Linked DNA regions of Homo sapiens: all the other regions are linked to region 2. The links are contacts of gene promoters, found by promoter capture Hi-C in human tissues and cell types (Jung and others, 2019). All regions are on one chromosome and are shown on one strand. Each heading gives the region's core, a stretch centred on a gene start or on the middle of the fragment in contact. The rest is flanking DNA. Distances are from core to core; before and after follow the strand shown. Region 1 has its middle 61 kb from the start of KLF15. Region 2 holds the start of KLF15 (KLF transcription factor 15). Region 3 holds the start of LOC105374088 (a long non-coding RNA gene).

Evidence for each region. Contacts are between HindIII fragments. The study calls those that stand out against the background at their distance.
Region 1: a fragment that was not itself captured here is called in contact with the fragment with the promoter of KLF15 in region 2 in 1 of the 25 tissues and cell types used here (pancreas).
Region 3: a fragment that was not itself captured here is called in contact with the fragment with the promoter of KLF15 in region 2 in 6 of the 25 tissues and cell types used here (H1 embryonic stem cells, heart left ventricle, liver and 3 more).

The regions. Positions count from the first base shown.
Region 1 is chr3:126,294,497-126,298,362 of GRCh38, forward strand. It overlaps a transcript of KLF15 not described here. Among named protein-coding and RNA genes, the nearest start is that of KLF15, 61 kb to the right of the region's middle. The HindIII fragment of the contact is 3,548 bases long and covers 1-3,071 here.
Region 2 is chr3:126,355,050-126,358,916 of GRCh38, forward strand. KLF15 (KLF transcription factor 15) reads right to left here and starts at 2,359. Exons shown (of 3, transcript NM_014079.4): 1 at 2,188-2,359. RefSeq lists enhancers at 901-1,660, 1,661-2,420 and a silencer at 2,319-2,538. The HindIII fragment of the contact is 9,710 bases long and covers 1-3,867 here.
Region 3 is chr3:126,311,869-126,315,289 of GRCh38, forward strand. It overlaps LOC105374088 (a long non-coding RNA gene), which reads left to right and starts at 492. Exons shown (of 3, transcript XR_924454.4): 1 at 492-647. It also overlaps a transcript of KLF15 not described here. The HindIII fragment of the contact is 7,168 bases long and covers 1-3,421 here.

The DNA.
Region 1 (3,866 bases), core at 48-2,547, 62 kb before region 2:
TCACTTTTAAACGTCAATAATTAAGCCATACACCAGTTGATAGCCTGTGGGGCAGGAGGAAGAGCAAGGCCTTCAGTCAGTCCAAAGGGTGGCTCGAGTAATTTTTTAACTGAGCACTTTTCTCTGCTTGCAGGCTGACCCTTGGTTGCATTTGGCCTCTCTAACTTTGCCCCATCTCTGCTGCTGAGGTCAGCAGCTCAAGAACGAGCCTTGCACAGGCTTTGGGGCCCTCTCCAGAGAAAATCGGGTTCCTTCTTTCCCTTCCAAGCATCTCTGCTCCCTTTGCCCTGCCGCTAGGAAGAAACCTCCCTGTCAGAGCCTCTCTACTTCTAAAGCCAAGTCTTTTGCCAGTGGCCCTGCCCCTCCATACACACACACACACACACACACACACACACACACACACACAGATACGTACACATACACACATGTGCATGTCCATGCATGCATAGATACACACAAACATGTATATATGTGCATATATACATACGTCTATGGATTCATATATACACATAATACACACATACACATGTGCACATATACATGCACATGCATGCACTTATACGCACATGCATATAGATACACATAGATGCACATGAGCATGCACACACATATGTACACACATGCATATACATACATATACACATACATATATGCTCATAAAGAACTACATACATATATAAATATATATTCCAATAACAGCTGTCAGATCATTGTTTTTAAAAAGCAAACAATCACAGAAGACACAAACAGCTTAGGCTCTTCTACAGCCTACTGGTCCTTACAACAACTTTAAGAGCAGATACAGTTACTATCCACTTTGGAAGATGAAGAACCTCCAGCTTCCTTGGCCCAAGCCTACACTTCTAGTGAGGGCAACGCTGGGAACTACATCCAGGCCTTTGCTCGAAGCCTGTCTCTGTACCCCCGTCACCATATGCTGCTCTAAGATTAGTTTCCCCGTTGGTTTGGTCAAAAGGCCCAAACCAACTCAGGATACAAAGTATGGCACTGAGGATACAAAGGCATCCACATTCGTATCCCGAGTGCCATGGCCAGATCAGTGCCTCCTCCCCTCCCCTGGCACCCTCCCCTCCACCCAGAGATGTGATCAGCTTCACATGGCTACCAACAAGTGAGACTGTCTGTCCCTTGACAAAGATTATATGCTTGGCCAAACTTTAGTCAGGCTTCTGAACCTTCCCCTTGACCCATCTGTGCACTTCCTTGCAAAATCCAGATTTAGCAAGAACAAAGCTAAGTCAGTTTGGCAAGAACTCCCTGTCCTTCATGTCTGATCAGATTCTTCACCCACCACCATCCCCCAGGTGATGTTGGTTATGCTGACCTGTCTTCAGCAAGAACACTGTTAGGTTGGATTAGCCAGGGACCCCCTAAACCCTGATGCTTCTTCTTAGTCATTTCCCATCCACTGACCCTAGTCTGGCTCCTGGTTGTAAATTCCGACTTGTCTGTGGTATATTCATAGTTGATGCTGATCTCTCTTCCCCACTGCACAGTCCCATTGCTGTTGTCCCTGTACGTATCACAATGGTCCTGAATAAAGCCTACCTTGCCATGCTTTAACAAGGTATTATTTAAATATTGCATAATATTTTCTTTAACATCCCACAGTGTCACTAATGCTGGGTGTTACTCATTGTTCATGTTTCTCAGCCTCAGGGGGGCTTGAAAAATCTTACTGTTATTTTTAATGTGTGCTAAATTTATATTTGGAGTCTCGCTCTATCGCCCAGGTGGAGTACAGTGGCGTGATCTCTGCTCACTACAAGCTCCACCTCCCAGGTTCACGCCATTCTCCTGCCTCAGCCTCCTGAGTAGCTGGGACTACAGGCGCCCACCACCATGCCCGGCTAATTTTTTGTATTTTTAATACAGACGGGGTTTCACCATGTTAGCCAGGATGGTCTTTATCTCCTGACCTCGTGATCCACCCGCCTTGGCCTCCCAAAGTGCTGGAATTACAGGCGTGAGCCACCACGCCAGACTGCAACATACATTCTTAATCTGCCAAGTTATATTTCTTAGCAATTTAGATGCCTTGTCTTTTCAAGAGAGGCCTGCAGCCTAGGGATTAGCACCTAGCATGTCTAGGGCTATGGCCTGAATCTGCAAGTCCAGCCGAGTGAATGTGGGAGTTTGGTTACATTCCCTAAGCTTCTGATTCCTTACCTCCAAAGTGTAGAAAACACAGTAACTACTTCAAAAGTTTGTTCTGAAGGGAATACAAATTAATTCATTAAGGCAGCTTCCATTCTCAAATAGGAAAAGTTGGCAGTTGTTATTGCTCATTATTTTGAGGGGATATTCATCTCCTTTCTTCTTAGTTTGTAAGAATTATGTATATACTTTAGGGTATTAACTTTGTGATACAAACATTTTTATTTTCTAGTTGATCATTTCTTTAGTAACTTTCTTTTTTTCGTTTGTTTTGTTTTTTAGATGCAGGGTCTTGTTATGTTGCCCAAGCTGGACTTGAACTCTGGGCTGAAGCAATCCTCCCACCTCAGCCTCCCAAGTAGCTAGGACAACAGGCATGTGTCACTGCGCCTTAGTAACTTTCTGTGTGGTGATTAATTCTAAACTTAATTTTTAAAATTTTGTTAGTTAAACCTTGAAATGTCTTCTTTTATAGTTTCTAGCTACAGTGTTATACTTGCCCTGTTTTATATTTGCTTAAAGAGTCACCTGTTTTTTTTTCTAGCACCATATTTTAACAGCCTTATTCATCTTTATGCTTAAGTAATGAATCTGGAACTTATTTTGATGTAAGATATCATGTAATGTATCTAACTTTTACTCCAAATGATAAGCCTGTTGACCTAACACTACTTTTTAATTAATTTATTATTGCCCCACTATTGTAAAATATTGCTTTCTATCATATACTAAATTTCATATAAATTTGAATCCATTTATGGTTTCACAATCCAGTATATTCTTTTTTTATTTCAGTCATTTTTGGGGAACAGGTGGTTTTTGGTTGCATGGATAAGTTCTTTAGTGGTGATTTCTGAGATTTTGGTGAACCCATCACCCAAACAGTGTGCACCGTACCCAGTATGTAGTCTTTTTTTCCTCACCCACCTCTCCCCACACGTCCCCAAAGTCCATCGTATTATTCTTATGCCTTCGCATCCTCATAGCTTAGCTCCCCCTTATAAGTGAGAACATATGATATTTGGTTTTCTTTTTCTGAGTTACTTAACTTATTCATTATTCATGGCCTCCAGCTCCATTTAAGTTGCTGCAAAGGCCATTATTTCATTCTGTCTTATGGCTGAATGGTATTCCATGTTTATATACCACATTTTCTTTATCCACTCATTGGTTGATGGGCATTTAGGTTGGTTCCATATTTTTGCAATTCTGAATTGTACTGCTATAAACATGCGTGTGCAAGTGTCTTTTTCATATAATGGCTTCTTTTCCTCTGGGTAGGTACCCAGTAGCAGGATTGCTGGATCAAATTGTAGTTCTACTTTTAGTTCTTTAAGGAATCTCCATACTGTTTTCCGTAGTGGTTGTACTAGTTTACATTCCTACCAGCAGTGTAGAAATGCTCCCTTTTCACCACATCAATGCCAACATCTATTATTTTTTTATTTTTTAATTATGGTCATTTTTGCAGGAGTAAGGTGGTATCTCATTACGGTTTTGATTTGCATTTTCCTGATAATTAGTGTTGTTCAGCATTTTTTCATATGTTTGTTGGTTGTTTGTATATCTTCTTTTGCAAATTTTCTATTCATGTCCTTAGCCCACTTCTTGATGGGATTATTAGGTTTTTTTTTTTTTCTGATTTGTTTGATTTCCTTGCAGATTCTGGATATTAGTCCTTTGTT
Region 2 (3,867 bases), core at 1,109-3,608:
TCTGCCCCTCTACTGTGATGTTAAGGAATCAGGGGCCTCCAGCCCTCCTGGGACCCAGAGCAGGCCTTAGAGCCCTCCCCTGAAACGTGATCACTAACTGGCCATCCCATGATATTAAGTAATTACTGTTAATATTTTTAATTGTGATGATCATATTGTGGTTAAAGGAGGCCTTACCTTTTAAACATATAAACAGATATTGACAGATAAAGTGATCTAAAAAGTACAGTAGGGGGGCTGGAAGGAAACACCCTCCAATGGCTTCCCAAGGACAGGTGGCCCTATCTCCTCGCAGCAGCCCAGCACCTGGGCCCTTGGGACTCTCTGCAGACCTCACCACCAACTGCCTCTCTTCTAGTCCAGGTGTGCTCACTTCACTTCAGCCTCAGCCCGGGGCCACTGCCCTGGCTCTTCCCCCAGCACTGCAGGTGGGAGCTGCTTAGTTAGATCTCGGCTCAGAAGTCACCCCTGTGGGGGCCTCCAGGCCCACTCTGTTACATCATCCTATATTATACTCTTCCCTGCAGTTTCTACTGTGGGAAACTATCTTGGTGATGTGTTTGTGAACTTTCCTCCCTGTCTACCTTCCCATCAGAATATCAGCTGTCCTGACTGTTCACTCCAAGGCCATATCCCAGAGTCTAAAACAGGACCGGGCAAAATTTGCTGAATGAGTGAATGGAAGGTGCGGGGGAGAGCGGGGGAGGTCGGAGAGTAGGAATGGGTGGCCCAGGTCAGCCAACAGGGTCTTAATGCTGGGCTGAACGTCCCAAGGGGGAAGCACCCAGGCACTGACAACCCAGAAAGGGCTCTGGGATGTCCCAGGGCACCGGCATTAAAGAGAGGACACTCTAGGGCTGGAGCTGGCTCGGCCCCTGAAACACAGCAGCACGTGGGGCGGCCAGAGGCGCAGGCTGCGTGCAGGGGGAGGGGACACGCTGTTCCGGGCACAGTCCCCGGCTGGCCGCCGGACTCCGCCCCCTCCCCTGGCCCGGCCAGGCCTGCTGTTTATCCTCCCGGGGACACAGCGGCTGCAGGAACAACATGTAATTGATAACAAGCCCAGCGCCGGCCAAGGGCTTGCCATTGGGTCAGCGTGCAAATCACGGGGGTGGCGGCGGGGGCTGTCCTTCAAAATAAGAGTCTCCGGTCCCTGAGCCGCCCGCAGGCCCCAAAGTCGCAGAGTCCGGGCGTCCTCACACCTGTAGGGCGGCAGGGTCTCCCCAGGGGCCACCTGGTCCGGGGGGACAGGGGGAAGGAGATTTGAGGCTCTCAAACAATTGTTGATTTTGTCACCTCCGAGGGCCGTGGGAGAAAACAGCCCCTCTGTGCCCTCCGTGAGAGGGGGGTTCCATGAGTAACACCAAGGCGGGGAGGGAAGAGTGAACCGGACCACCATATGGGATGGGGACGGCCTCTCTGCCCCGCCGCCGCCATCCCTCGGTCAGGCCATGGCTTTGGTAATGTTCGGTCTGAGCGGACGGGGACTCAGCGTGGAGTGAGACGCGTGAACGGTGCGGGTGTGCGTGAAGGGGTGTGAGTTCCTGTCGTGTGACTGCGTGTGCGGGGCGTGGTGCGCGGCAGCCGCTGTGGCTGTGCGGGAGGCTGTCCGCGAAGGACTCGCGCGTGGAGCCGCCGTGGGTGCCGGCGGGTGAGGGGAAACGTGCGTGGGAAATGAAGAGAGCCGGCTCAGACCCCTTCTAGAGTCCTGGACCGCTGCCCGCTGGGCACCATGCCCTCGTCCCACGCCCCCCCCTTGCCCCCGACACTGCTGCGGTGACCGACAGTAACCCCTCCGTCTCCAGCCCCTCCGCCCCCCAACCCCGGGCTGGCCAGCGCGTCCGCTCTCCCCCTCCTCTCACCAGGCCGCGCCGGTGCCCACCATATGGGAGGGCCGGCCCGCAAGGCGCGCCACGGAATCGCCCGGCCAGGCACCGAGGCGGCGGCGCGGGCCTCAGCAAAGTGCTGGTGGGCGACCGGGGCGGGGGGGGTCACCTCCCCCGGGCCAGTCCGACCCCTGCCCACCTCCGCGGGGGCCCATCCCGCTCCTCCGACATTCCTCCAGCACTCGCGCGGTGCCTCCGAGAGCTGCGCGGGAGCACGGCCACGCGCCCCGAGGCCGGCCAGCCCTCTGATCACCCGGGGCCGCGTCCACGCGGCCGGCCGGCCCCGCCGCGCCTCTCCCACCTGAACTTGGCGCACGCCGGACCGGCGGCCAGGCCCCGGCGGTCCTGCGGCCGGGCGGGCTGGGCTGGGGGCGGCGGCTAGACTCTCGGTCCGGCGGCGGCCGGGGGCCGAGCCGCGGGTCCTGCGCTGGCTCGATCGCCCGCCGGCCCGCGGGTCGCTGCGGCGGAGCACTAGCCCGCCCGCAGCTCGCTGGGCACTCACTCCCCGCCGCTCACGTGACGCAGCGGGCGCCGCGAAGGCTCGCAGGAGGCTCGGCCCCGGGCGCGCGCCCCATTGGCCCGCGCTGCGCGTCACACGTCCCGCCCCGCCCTGGCCCCGCCCTGGCCCCGCCCCGGCCCGCCCGCGCGGCTCCCGGACTTGAGCGGCGGATGCTCGGGGATCCCGGAGCTGCCAGACGCGCACGCCCCCCAACACGCTGCCTGGTCCCTGGCCCGCAGCCACCTCCTTGCTTCCCACCTCTCGCCGCTGTCTCGCGGCGTCCACGAGGGCCGGCTTCTAAAGCTCGGTTCCCAAGGTGAGAACGTGAGACTGGCCTGAAGACTTAAGAAAAGCTCTGAGATCGCCCCAAAGTGCAGTCTGCGTGATTGAGCGGGAAGCGCTGGGGAGCCTGTCTGGCCCGGTCTGGCCCACGTCCCCACCTTCATCCCCAGCGCGGTACAAGCAGCTCTGTCCCCCGCTGAGTGTCAGATAAATCACTTGCCTAGAAGGACGTATTTTTGGATAAATACGGTATTGGGCTTTCAGCAGGACAATCAGTTACCCTCCGGAAATTGCGCGCGCTCTGCGCTGCCACCCTGCCCTCCAGGACTAAGGAGGTTTGCTGACCGGCCCCCCCCCCCCCCACCTGAAACCAATGACACCTTGTCTCTGGGGCACCTTTCTGAAGACCAAACAATGCTTCGCAGTCTACAAAAGCGTTCGTAGACTGCTTTAGTCCGCAGCAATCCTGGCTCGCATTTGGGTTCCCGCTTAGAGACAGGAAGAGTAAGGCTCAGAGTGGCTTGCCCAAGAAAAACACGTGGGCTGACGGTGCTAGGCACCCTGCTGTGCCCTTTAATCCACACTCCAGCTGGATCCTCAGCCAAGCACTTTACAGATGAAGAAACCGACTCAGAGAGGGCACCAGCCCTCCCCAGCCCCACAGCTGGGAAGGAGCAGGTAGAGAGGTAGAGCCAGGTCATCTTGCAGACACCCCCAGGCCACCTGTGCAGAGCTGTCCTACTGAGCTTCCTTCCTCTCCCCTCCTGGCACTGGGAGGTGGGGAGCATTTTCTCCTGCTTCTTCTTGAAGACATTGCTAGAACAGGAATTTTTAACCATACCCTTTCCAGGCTCTCTGGAATGCTATAGGTCTAGGCTTGCTTGACCAGGGATCTGGGGACACTGTGCACCAGGTCAGTGCCAGGGATTCAGCTGCTGCTGCCACTAGGAGCCAAACCAATGCGTTGCCAGAGGGCTTTAAGGACATTTGTGTTGAGGATGGTGAGAGGCTTTCTAGTTCACAGAAGTTGGAATGACCACTCTGGCATTACAGCAGCCCTGGCTAGCCTGGGCAGAACAGTGGAATTTGTCCATTTTCATAAGAGAAGAGATAGAGGCCTGTATTCCTCATTTTGTCTCAGTGCAGGTCTGGATTGGGCATAGCCACAGCACTTCTCCATCTGCCCTGCCCGCCCTCGGT
Region 3 (3,421 bases), core at 842-3,341, 43 kb before region 2:
CTGGCTCAAAGGTGGGGAGGCCACTGGTCTGACCAGTTGGCTATCAATCGTAAATCACTGGGTTGAGCCCTCTTGTTGGATCCACATTTATGCACACTCTGCTCCAGCTCTTCCTGGTAGGATGGGAAGTTACTCTCCAATCCCTGGCTGATTTGGCTGACCAGGCAGGCTGCAATCCCCTGAGCTATAGCTCAGAGGCTATAGCCCCTCTGAGCACCCTTCTTTCAGAATCTGGCATCAGACTCCAGTGTGCAGCAGATGCTGTGGCTGTCAGAGCTCATGTGGAAGCCCTTGTATCTAAGAACCTGAGTCTTTTGGGATTTTTTAGAGTTAGGGTCTTGCTTTGTCACCCACACTGGAGTAGAGTGATGCAAGGCTCACTGCAGCCTCAACCTGCCAGGCTCAAGGGATCCTCCCACTTCAGCCTCCTGAGTAGCTGGGACTATAGGTGCATGCCACCATGCCCTGTTAATTTTTTGTCTTTTTTGTAGACATGGGGCGTCACTATGTTGCCCAAGCTAGTCTCAAACTCCTGGACTCAAGTGATCCTCCCACCTTGGTCATCCAAAGCGCTGGGACTACAAGCATGAGCCACCGCGCCCAGCCAGAACCTGAGTATTCAATGTTTCCATAAATGGATTTCACTGGTAAGCTTCCCTCCTGTTTCTTATGTCTGACTCTCCCTTAGGGGGCCCGCCTGGCACCCAGCAATGCGCTAAGTGCTTTTCCCATCTAACACAAGAACCCTCCTGCTTCATCCATGCAGGGCACCAAATACTGTATCATCTCTCTAATTAAAATTTAAATTACAGCATCTGTGAGTTTTCCAGGGCTGCTGTAACAAAGTACGACAGCCTGAGGGCTTCAACAGACATTTGCGTTTTCACAGTTTTGGAGGCTGCAAGTCCTCGATCAAGGTGTGTGTAGACTGGCGGGTTCCCTTTAAGGCCCTGAAGGTCTGTCTGTCCTGGGCCCTCGCCTAGCTTCTGCTGGTGGTTGGAGCCCTTCAGCATTACTGACCTCCCGCTCATGTTCACGTGGCATTCTCCTTGTGCATGGCAGCTCCCAGCTCCCCTTTTATGAAGATCCTCATCACATAGAATTCAGGGATGTTATGGGCTGAGTTCTGTCTCCCAAAATTCATATATCTAAGTCCTAACCCCCAGAACCTCAGAATGGAACCAAATTTGGAATTAGGCCTTTAAACAGGCCATAAAGTGAAAATGAGGCCTTTAAAAGTAGCCCTTAATCCAACCTGACTGGGGTGCTTGTAAGAAGAGGGGGTTGGGACACACAAAGAGACCCCAGAGATGCAAGTGCACAGAGGAATGACAACATGGGGACACAGCGAAAAGGCGGCCAGCTGCACGGCAGAGAGAGACAGGCCGTGGGAGAATCCAACCCTGCTGACGCATTGACCTCCAACTTCCAGCCTCTGGAACTGTGGGGAAATGAACCTCTGTTGTTTAAGCCACTCATATGGGGCATTCTGTTACGCAGCCTCAGCTGACTCATACAAGGGCCCATCCTACTCCAGAATGACTCCAGGATGACCACATCCTAACTATTACATCTGCAGTGACCCTATCTTTAAATGAGGTCACATTTGGAGACACTGGTGATTTGGACTTTGAGATATAAATTTTGGGGGACATGATTCAACCTGTAACCTAGTGTTTCTGGGCCCTGGCCCTGGCATCCCCATCCCAAGCAATGTCTGGGAATACTGACTTGCCCTGGACTTCCTGCAGAGGGTCATTTTTCACACTTGTCATCCTCAGTCCCTGGCATGGCTCAACCCCACCTTCTCCTGCCCTCCCTACTGGTTCCACACACAGACCTGCCTTGTATGAGCTACTTATTGCTACTTACCAACTACCCAAAACTTAGGCTTAAAACAACCACCATCTTCTTTGCTCTCACTCCTGTGGTCTGACCATCTGGTCTGGGCTCAGCCATGGTCCTTACACTGGGGCACGTTGTGTGGCTAAAGTCATCTAGGGATGTCTTCAGCTGAGGCTTGAGCAGAACTCAGCAAACTGCAAACCCGTCTACCATCTGTTTGTGTAAATAAAGTTTTATTGGCACACAGCCAGGCTCATACAGTTATGTGTTGCCAGTGACTGCTTCATGCTGCAACAGCAGTTGATGAGGTGAGACAGAAACTGCATGTGGCCACACAAAGCCTAAAATATCTATTATCTTGCTCTTTATACAAAAGCTTGCTGAGCCCTGGTCTCAGGCTGTGTCACTCCCTCGCTCGGTGGCCAACGGTCACCCAGAGGGACTCATCCTCACAAGGCCTGCCCAGGATTCCTCATGGGGGCTGGGGTGCTCTCGGGGTTCCAATAGCTCACAAAATGTCAGTCCAAAATTCAAAGGGTGGGGATATGGGTCCCCCCTTGACAGGAGAGTCACAGCACATCACCAAGGACCACACATACAGGGGTGGGAGGAGCCATTGCCACCTTCCTTGCAAATGTCATTCATGTGTCTTCCTTTGAATGGGCCAAGCACAGCTAAGTCAAGGCCATGATGCTTGACAGAGCCTGACTGACCGCTTGGGGAAGCAGAGAATCAGAACACAGAGCAACCTCCCTATGGCCAGTTGTGTTCTTAGGGCTCAGGGCTCCCACACAGGGACCCACACGTGTTCCCAGGTTCCTCCCATCCAACCAGTAGCTCCTGCCTCCCACACCTCTGTGCCCCAGGCTCTTGCTACTAGAACTGAGGACTACACTTCCCACAGTGACCCCAGCAGGGCCCAGAGCCATTCACCCCACAGCTGCACACAGCACAGCTCAGCAAACGAATACTGGGCTCCACCTGGGGCAGAACAGAGGCGAAGTCCAGGGAGGGCTAGACATGAGGGCCCTCTATGCCCCCATATAGTAGTAATCCCCTCTGTCTGTCTATTGCATCAGCATCGTTCTCTCTGATCACAGAAAATTCCACTAATTTGGTAAAGAAAGACAGACAGCCAGGACCCCAAGGCCATCTTTTTATGGCTTGCTTTCCTTGAGAAAGATACAGACCTTGCATAGAGTTGGCTAGGGCTGCCAGAGCACTACACACTAGGGGCCGCAGATGTCTCTTGTCTCACAGTTCTGGGGGAAGGAAGTCCAGGATGAAACTGCGGCCAGGGATGTCTGCTTCTGAGATAGCGTCTGTTCCAAGTCCCCCTCCTGGCTCCTGCTATTTGCTGCCAATCTTTGGAGTTCCTTATCTTGTAGGCTGTCACCCTGATCTCCACCTTCATGACCACTTGGGGTTCCCCCATGTGTGTGTCTGTGTCCAAATGTCCCCTTTTTATAAGGACACCAGTCATATTGCATTAGAGAGACCCACCCTACTCCAGTGCAACCTCATCTTAAATAATTACATCTGCAACAACTCTAGCTCCGAACAAGTTCACATTCTG